Linked DNA regions of Homo sapiens: region 2 is linked to region 1. The links are contacts of gene promoters, found by promoter capture Hi-C in blood cells and fetal thymus (Javierre and others, 2016). All regions are on one chromosome and are shown on one strand. Each heading gives the region's core, a stretch centred on a gene start or on the middle of the fragment in contact. The rest is flanking DNA. Distances are from core to core; before and after follow the strand shown.

Region 1 (3,327 bases), core at 331-2,830:
TGTGTATTTGCAAGGTGGAGTTGGTTTGGGTGTGCTGAGCTGTTGACTGTCTCATCCACTGCCCTTGCTAGGGCTGTCAGAGGCCAAGCTAAGCAACCTACCTTTGCCCACAGCAGCCTTTCTCAATTGATGGAAGTTCTTCCCCCAGGGAGTCCCAGTCCACCTGTTGCCACCCTCCTGATGCTGGGTGCCCAGTCAGAGAGGGTTAGGGAGATGTGCTGATGGCATGCACGACCTCCCCTAGATACTCCAAGACCCCGGCTTGTGAGGGGAGTGTGTGTGGAGAGGGTACTAGTCCTGCCTTCACCTCACCTCTGGGGAAACAGCTAGGACAGTCCCCTTCGCACAGCCCAATCCAGCCCCAGGGAAGGTGTTCAAGTGAGGCTCCCCCGTTTAGAGGGTTTCTTTCCAATCCCATCTCCCCCATCCCCTTTGCTCAGTCACTCAGTCACTCCAAGCAGTGTGATCTCCGGCAGGTGGCTTTACACCTCTGTGCCTCAGGTCCTTCATCTGTAAAATGGGATGTAAATGGTGCTTACTTCAGAGGGTTGTGAGAATTAACTGACATGATGCATACAGAGTGCTTAGCCCTGTGCCTGGCACAGGGAAGGTCTTTGCCTATGTTAGCTGATCCGCTCGTTCTGATCTCTCTGGGTTTCAATCCCAAGACACTGCCCATCCTTCAAACCTCACCTGTCCCCACGTGCTCCTTGGACCACCTTTGGGTGGTCAGGACTTTCCCCCTGGAATCAGACTGGCTGGGAGGGGAGAATCTTGGAAAGAGATTATTGACACTTGCACTGCAATTTCCACACAAGTTTTAAAATTTAATTCTATACCCCCTTATGAAATAGTTATCCTTTTCCTCCATTTTACAGATGATGATGAAGGGAGCAATAGAATTGTTAAGTAACTTGTTCAAGGTCACACAGTAAATAAGGGGCAGAGTCCAAGTTTACACTGAGCCAAAAATGGCTGTCCCACTGTCAGGTAGGAGGCTAGTTTACAACAACGCAGGATCAGAGTGCTGGAGGGGTTTCCAGGGGTCTGGTTAACAGTTCTGCCGGAGATCATACAGACAAGCAGAGCCAGCCAGGATGATCCTAATCTATACCCAGCTTCATATCGCTGTAAGCCCCCGCGTAACCAGGACTTGGGTGTTCTCATTTTGGGAGCCTTTTTTTTGGAAAGACCCCCACATGTGGAAGGCAGAGCGCATACTACAGACAGGGGAGCCAAAAGTGAGAGTCCTATGTTTAATCAGAGGAGAAAGCTGACATGGCCAAGCCAAATGAAGGCGCAAAGCCAGATTTCCTTAATTTGGGGGAGCGAAAATTGGGCCGCCTCCACGTCCAGCCATTCTCCAGCGGCCGGGTTTTTCAAAACGCTGCGCCCAGCGTCTCGCGAGGACCCTCCCCCCGGGTCCCCCAGCTCTGCCGCGGCCGCGCCCAGATGGCCGTCGGATCCCCCCTCAAGGTCCCCCTGTCGGCTCCGCCCTCGGTCGCCCAGGCCCCGCCCCGGCCGCGCGCGGTCCCCTCGGTTGGCGAACTCACTCCGGCGAGCGAGCGGCGGCGCTCGGCATTGTGGCAGGCGGCTGGGGCCGGCTAGGGCGCCGGAGCCGCACGCAGCCGCGGGGCTCCGAGAGGCGCGCACTGGGGCTGGGACTGCGCGGCGCCGCCGCTGCGAGCGCCACTGAGCGGTCGCGCAACTTCGGAGGCACAGCGCCGGAGCCAGGCGAGCGCTCAGAGACCCGGAGCCAGAGGGGCGCGCCGGAGCCTCGTTCGAGAGCCGGCGCCAGGCACCCACCGCGCTCCGAGTGCCAGGCGGCCCTCCGCGCAGCGTGGCTTCCGCTGCCCCCACGGAAGGCACGGGCTGGCGCTGCCGGGCGCCGGGGAGGACGGCGAGGAGGAGGCGGCGGCGGCGGAGACGGCGGCGGCGAGACTGGGGCCAGGGAGACAGCCCTGGGGGAGAGGCGCCCGAACCAGGCCGCGGGAGCATGGGGGCCCGGAGCGGAGCTCGGGGCGCGCTGCTGCTGGCACTGCTGCTCTGCTGGGACCCGAGGCTGAGCCAAGCAGGTAGGAAGCGATCGGGTCTGGGGGCGCGGGGCTAGGGGACCCTTGCGCCTCACTCTGTCCTGAAGTTGAGGTGGTCTTTCGTCGCATCGATGCGCGCAGGAAAAGCGGCAAGGGCGCCCAAGTTAGAATGTAGATTTTACTGCCTCCCAAAGTGGGCAATGGCGCATCCACATCGCGGGAGCGGGGAGCAGGGAAGGGGCTTCACAGTAAGCTGAAAGGTCCCTGCTCGCTCCTGAAAGGGATCCCTTCTTCTCCCTGGAAGGGGTGTAGGAGTCAGGGTCTGAGTCTCCGGGAGGATCCGCCTCCTGGGGACGCCCGGCTCTCCGCGCGCCTGGCATCCGCCCCGAAAAAGAACATTGGCTACATAAGCAAGGTGTGCGCTCGCTGCCGTACGCCGGTAACTTACTAGTCTGGTCCCGGCTCGCCTAGGCTCTTACGCGCTATAGGGACAGCAATCTGCAGACTAGAGGGAGAGAGCGAAAAGACCTGCTGAACACAGGAAGCGCTTCGGTAGCCTCGGCAGGCCGGCTTGCAGGGCTCCTGAAGCGGGGAGGGCTAAGTCTTGCACACATAGCTTTCCCCGAGATCGCTGGGCCCGCAGGTCTGGAAGAATTATTATTATTATTATTATTATTATTATTATTAATTTTCTGAGTGTTGGAGAGTGTGTGTGTGTGTGTGTGTGTGTGTGTGTGTGTTGGATGCGGGTAGGGGTTCTTAGCGATCCTGCGGAGTTTCCTTTTAAATTGGTCACTGACATTCTCGCTGTCCGGGGAACAGACTAGGTGCGCTCTCCTTGGTACAGCGCCCGCTCTGGACCCACCAAGATGACTTCAGCGAACTGGTGGGCTCCGAAATAAAGTCCCTAACCCTCCTCTCTCGCCGTGGATGAATACGTTTCTCGCTCGTCCTGTAGCTGGACCCGGCGTCGCTGGCTGGGCTGCGTCTTCTCGGGGAGGCTGTGGACTGAATGGAGCCAGCCTCTCTCTGGTACCCGAACCCAAGCAAGTGGGCTGGCCACGGCTGCCGGGCGGCTCGGCTCCGGAGCCAGGTGGGGACGGGGCCTCCTGCACGGAGTCCTCTCTGAGTTGAGGCTGAGAATGGAGCAGGAAAACTGGAGCAGAAAGTGGACGAGATGACGCAGCCCTCCCCACCTCCTACCTCCTGCTGCGAAGTTGACATCCGCCCTTCCCCCCTCCATAGCCAAAGATTCCTCATTCTGGAATTAGTGATTCCCACGGCCAGGAGTGAG
Region 2 (3,327 bases), core at 568-3,067, 270 kb before region 1:
CTGTGCTCCAGCCCTTGAGCTGGGCCATTCTGTCCCCCTACTGTCACGCACTGTGCTGTGACCTGTTTATCTTATCCCCTGACCTTGGCACGTACTCATCCCTCACTGGGCGTGCCACTTTTCTCCTTTTTGCCTTTCTGGGTTTCACCCCAATCACTCAGCTGAGTCCCTGCCTCTCCAAGAAACCTTCTCTTATGGGCTCATAGCCCACACCCAGTTCTGTTCTGAGCATCTGGGGGCCATTCCACCCACTTGGCGCTTGGATGGACACATTCTTAGGAGCTCAAGCAGCCTGTCTGTGCAATGGGGGAGGGCCTGTCCACCAGGCTCGGTCAGCAGAGTGGTTGGAGGACATAGGATGGACAGTTATTTGCCCCCATGGTGCTGGCCCTCTGGAAATTTAGAGTCCCTAGAAGCCCCGCCATGTCCTGCTTCTTACCTGTGATGTAGGGGTGGAGATGGAGGGGCTTGAAAGGGCCCCTGGTGGCTTTCCCTTCCCTGGCCACTAATCCAGGCTGCCTGCTCCCTCCTCCCAGCCCTGCCAGCTGGCCAAGCTTATCCTGTGGCCCTGTCCAGGTGACAAGGCCCTGGAAGAGGGCCAGCCAGCTGGACTTCTCAGGAGCTGTCACCAGAGCCCCAGAATATGGGGAGTGGAAGGAAGCACAGAGGCAGCAGGGCCCTTCTCTGGGGAAGACAACCAGGGACACTGGGAGCCTGAAACCAGAGCCATTTCACACCTTGCCTATTAATTGCCAGATTGATTTTGGATCCCAGTCTCCAGGAGGACCCAAAAATCAATCCCCTCCACTCCATGCTTCTCTGGGCTCAGGAGTCGTTCTTAAAGCTGCAGCTGTCCTGGCTGCTGTGGCTGAACCTTCCTGTCCAAGAGCAGGCTGTGGGTTTCCAAGCATGCTCAGGGCTAGGCGGCGGCTGTTGGCTTTATTCCAGATCCACTGATCTCTGTGTAGGAAGACTCTTACCCTGAAGGGGAGCCATGGGGTATGATTGGAGAGGTGTTAAGAAGGCTCTCATTCTCAAAGCTCCCTCCTACCAAGATGCCCGATACCCGTAATTCCACCATTAGGAAGTCATTTCTTTGGATACATTTAGGTCAACAGTCCCAGCTTCCAAAATATGGAGGCCCAGGAGAAGGAACACAGATTAAGGCTGTACCATTGCAGTTCCTTGTGAATGGAGGCACTGGAGGCCTCAGGGCATCAGGAGAGCTCTGTGTGAGGGGTGGGGAGGAGGAGGCAGATGTCAGGGCGTGGGGGAGGGAAAGTAGAAGTTGAAGACCACCCAAGAGGAGGCTGTGGAGGGGTGGTGAGCAAAGGAACAGTAGGTACCCCCAAGGCATTTCCCACCTGGGGGGCTGCTTTGGGGCTGTGGTGCTGGGAGACTGGCTCTGTGGCAGGTGAGATAAGATGAAGGAACTCCCGTTGGCTGGGTACCCTCTGTGCCTCCAGCCTTTAGCCAAGCACAGTGGCAGTCTGATGTCACCACCACCCTGTGGGAAGGGCTCCCACAGCCTTGTTTCTTAGATGAGACACTGAGGTGGTGCATGAGGCTGGGTGACCTGCCCAAAAGGTCACACAGCTGCTCCTGCAGCATGGGGGCTGGAGCTTGGGTCCGCCACCTCTTCATGCCATGATTTCACTGCCTCCCGCCTCCTCCGCAAAAGGGGCCAGGAGTTGAGGAGGCTTCTAAGAAGTTGGGAGAGCCGGAGCATAATGGAAGGGGTACCTGAGGTCAAGGACGCCATGATTTCAAGAAGCTGAGGCAGGAAGTTCTATGACCCGCTGATGTTAGAAGCTGGGGACAGCCCCTGGGCTTCTGTCCTCAGCCTCCCTGACATCCTGCCCTGTGCAGAGCCCGCACATGTGTGAAGGCCTGGTGGGCAGGTCTCCTGCAGCCTCAGCCCAGTGGCTGCTGCCTGCTACTCCATCATGGCTGTGGAGATGTGGGCTTTAGGCAGGGTCACTGCAAGTCACCCTGTGTGCTTAGGGACATGGGGACATCATTGCTCATCCCCTTCCCACATGGACCCAATTACTGATGCAGCACTGCGTGTTCCCACGGCCACCAACACGGGCCTCATTCCTGGTAGCATCACAGATGGACAAAGAGGTCCTGGGCCTCCCTCCACCCCCCCAAGCCCATTATGCTAATTTCAGGTGTGTCTCCACTTTGCCAGCCTGGAGGGTGGAGCGTGTGTGTGTGTGTGTGTGTGTGTGTGTGTGTGTGTGTGTGTGTGTGTTGGGGAGGGAATGAGGCAGCAACTGCAAGAAGTTTGGTGCAGTTACAGGGAACAAGTCTCATCTTTGCCCAGCCTGTGAGCCCCTTGAGAGCAGGGGCCATGTCTGTTTTCCAATAACTGACCCCGAGGGCCTGGCATGGATGTGGGTACTCAGTGCATGTTTGTTTAGTGACTGAATGGCTGAGTGAGTGAATTAGGAATCTCTTGGTGGCCATCTGAGTCCTCGCCCAGCCACAGCTATGCTGTGTGGCTTTTGGTGAGTTGCTAGATGTCTCTGTGTGCAGATACCTGAAAATAGTGCCAACTGGGAAGAATGGCTAATGACAGGCATGTGCTGAGGGGATAGTGTGGGCAGGAGGGCTCTGCAGTTTGTGGAAGGTGCCCGCAGTGTAAACTGCTGGGGACACTGGGGTCTCTCTCTTTTTCCCAAGGCAAGGCTGACACGGTTTGGAGCACAGTGTAGTTTTGAGTGGGAGGAGGGGGCTGTCCTAGGCTTGGTTGGGGTGGGGGCATGTGGACTGGCATTGGAACTGAAGGGTGACAGGGAGGGCTGGGTCGGGGCTTGGCCAGGGGTTGAGGTCAGGGGATGGCTCAGGCAATGGCTGGGGGCTCACGCGGATCCTGAATGAAGAAGTTGGTCAGAGCTGGGTACAGCTGGGGTTGGCTTCAGGACCTCAACTCAGGGCTGGACCAGAGGTCTCACCAGGTCAGGGCCAGTGTCAGCCTGGGGCCAGTGCAGATTCTGTCCAATAGGAGCACTGGGAATGGCTCACTGTCCTGGCCTCATTTGCTCTGAGCACATAAGCTGAGTGGGTGGATAACCAAAGCTTTCTGAGGGTGATGGCCTTGAAGAAGTCCTCCTGTCCCCAGGTTGTCCTCGGGGAAGCTCAGGGCTGCCCAGGGACCCAGGGGCCATTTCACCCTGTCTGTGTGTTGTCAGGGGAAGGACAGAATTGCCCAGCTAGCACTGACTAGCAGCTGGAGGGTGGTGTCATCAGCATTTCTCACACATGCACGACACTCTATAGTTTATAACCCCTTTCCTACCCTGCATCTTCTTATCCTCTCCA

The links. Contacts are between HindIII fragments. The CHiCAGO score rates a contact against its expected background, and 5 or more counts as called.
Region 2: a contact is called between a fragment that was not itself captured here and the fragment with the promoter of UNC5B in region 1, in 5 of 17 cell types (endothelial precursors, M1 macrophages, M0 macrophages and 2 more). The highest score is 13.1, in endothelial precursors.

Annotation. Positions count from the first base shown.
Region 1 is chr10:71,210,990-71,214,316 of GRCh38, forward strand. It overlaps UNC5B (unc-5 netrin receptor B), which reads left to right and starts at 1,581. Exons shown (of 17, transcript NM_170744.5): 1 at 1,581-2,075. The coding sequence starts at 1,997. RefSeq lists an enhancer at 1,343-1,637 and a silencer at 1,482-1,741. The HindIII fragment of the contact is 10,825 bases long and covers 1-3,327 here.
Region 2 is chr10:70,940,454-70,943,780 of GRCh38, forward strand. The region is part of intron 1 of LINC02622 (long intergenic non-protein coding RNA 2622); the gene reads left to right. Among named protein-coding and RNA genes, the nearest start is that of LINC02622, 3.1 kb to the left of the region's middle. The HindIII fragment of the contact is 2,530 bases long and covers 553-3,082 here.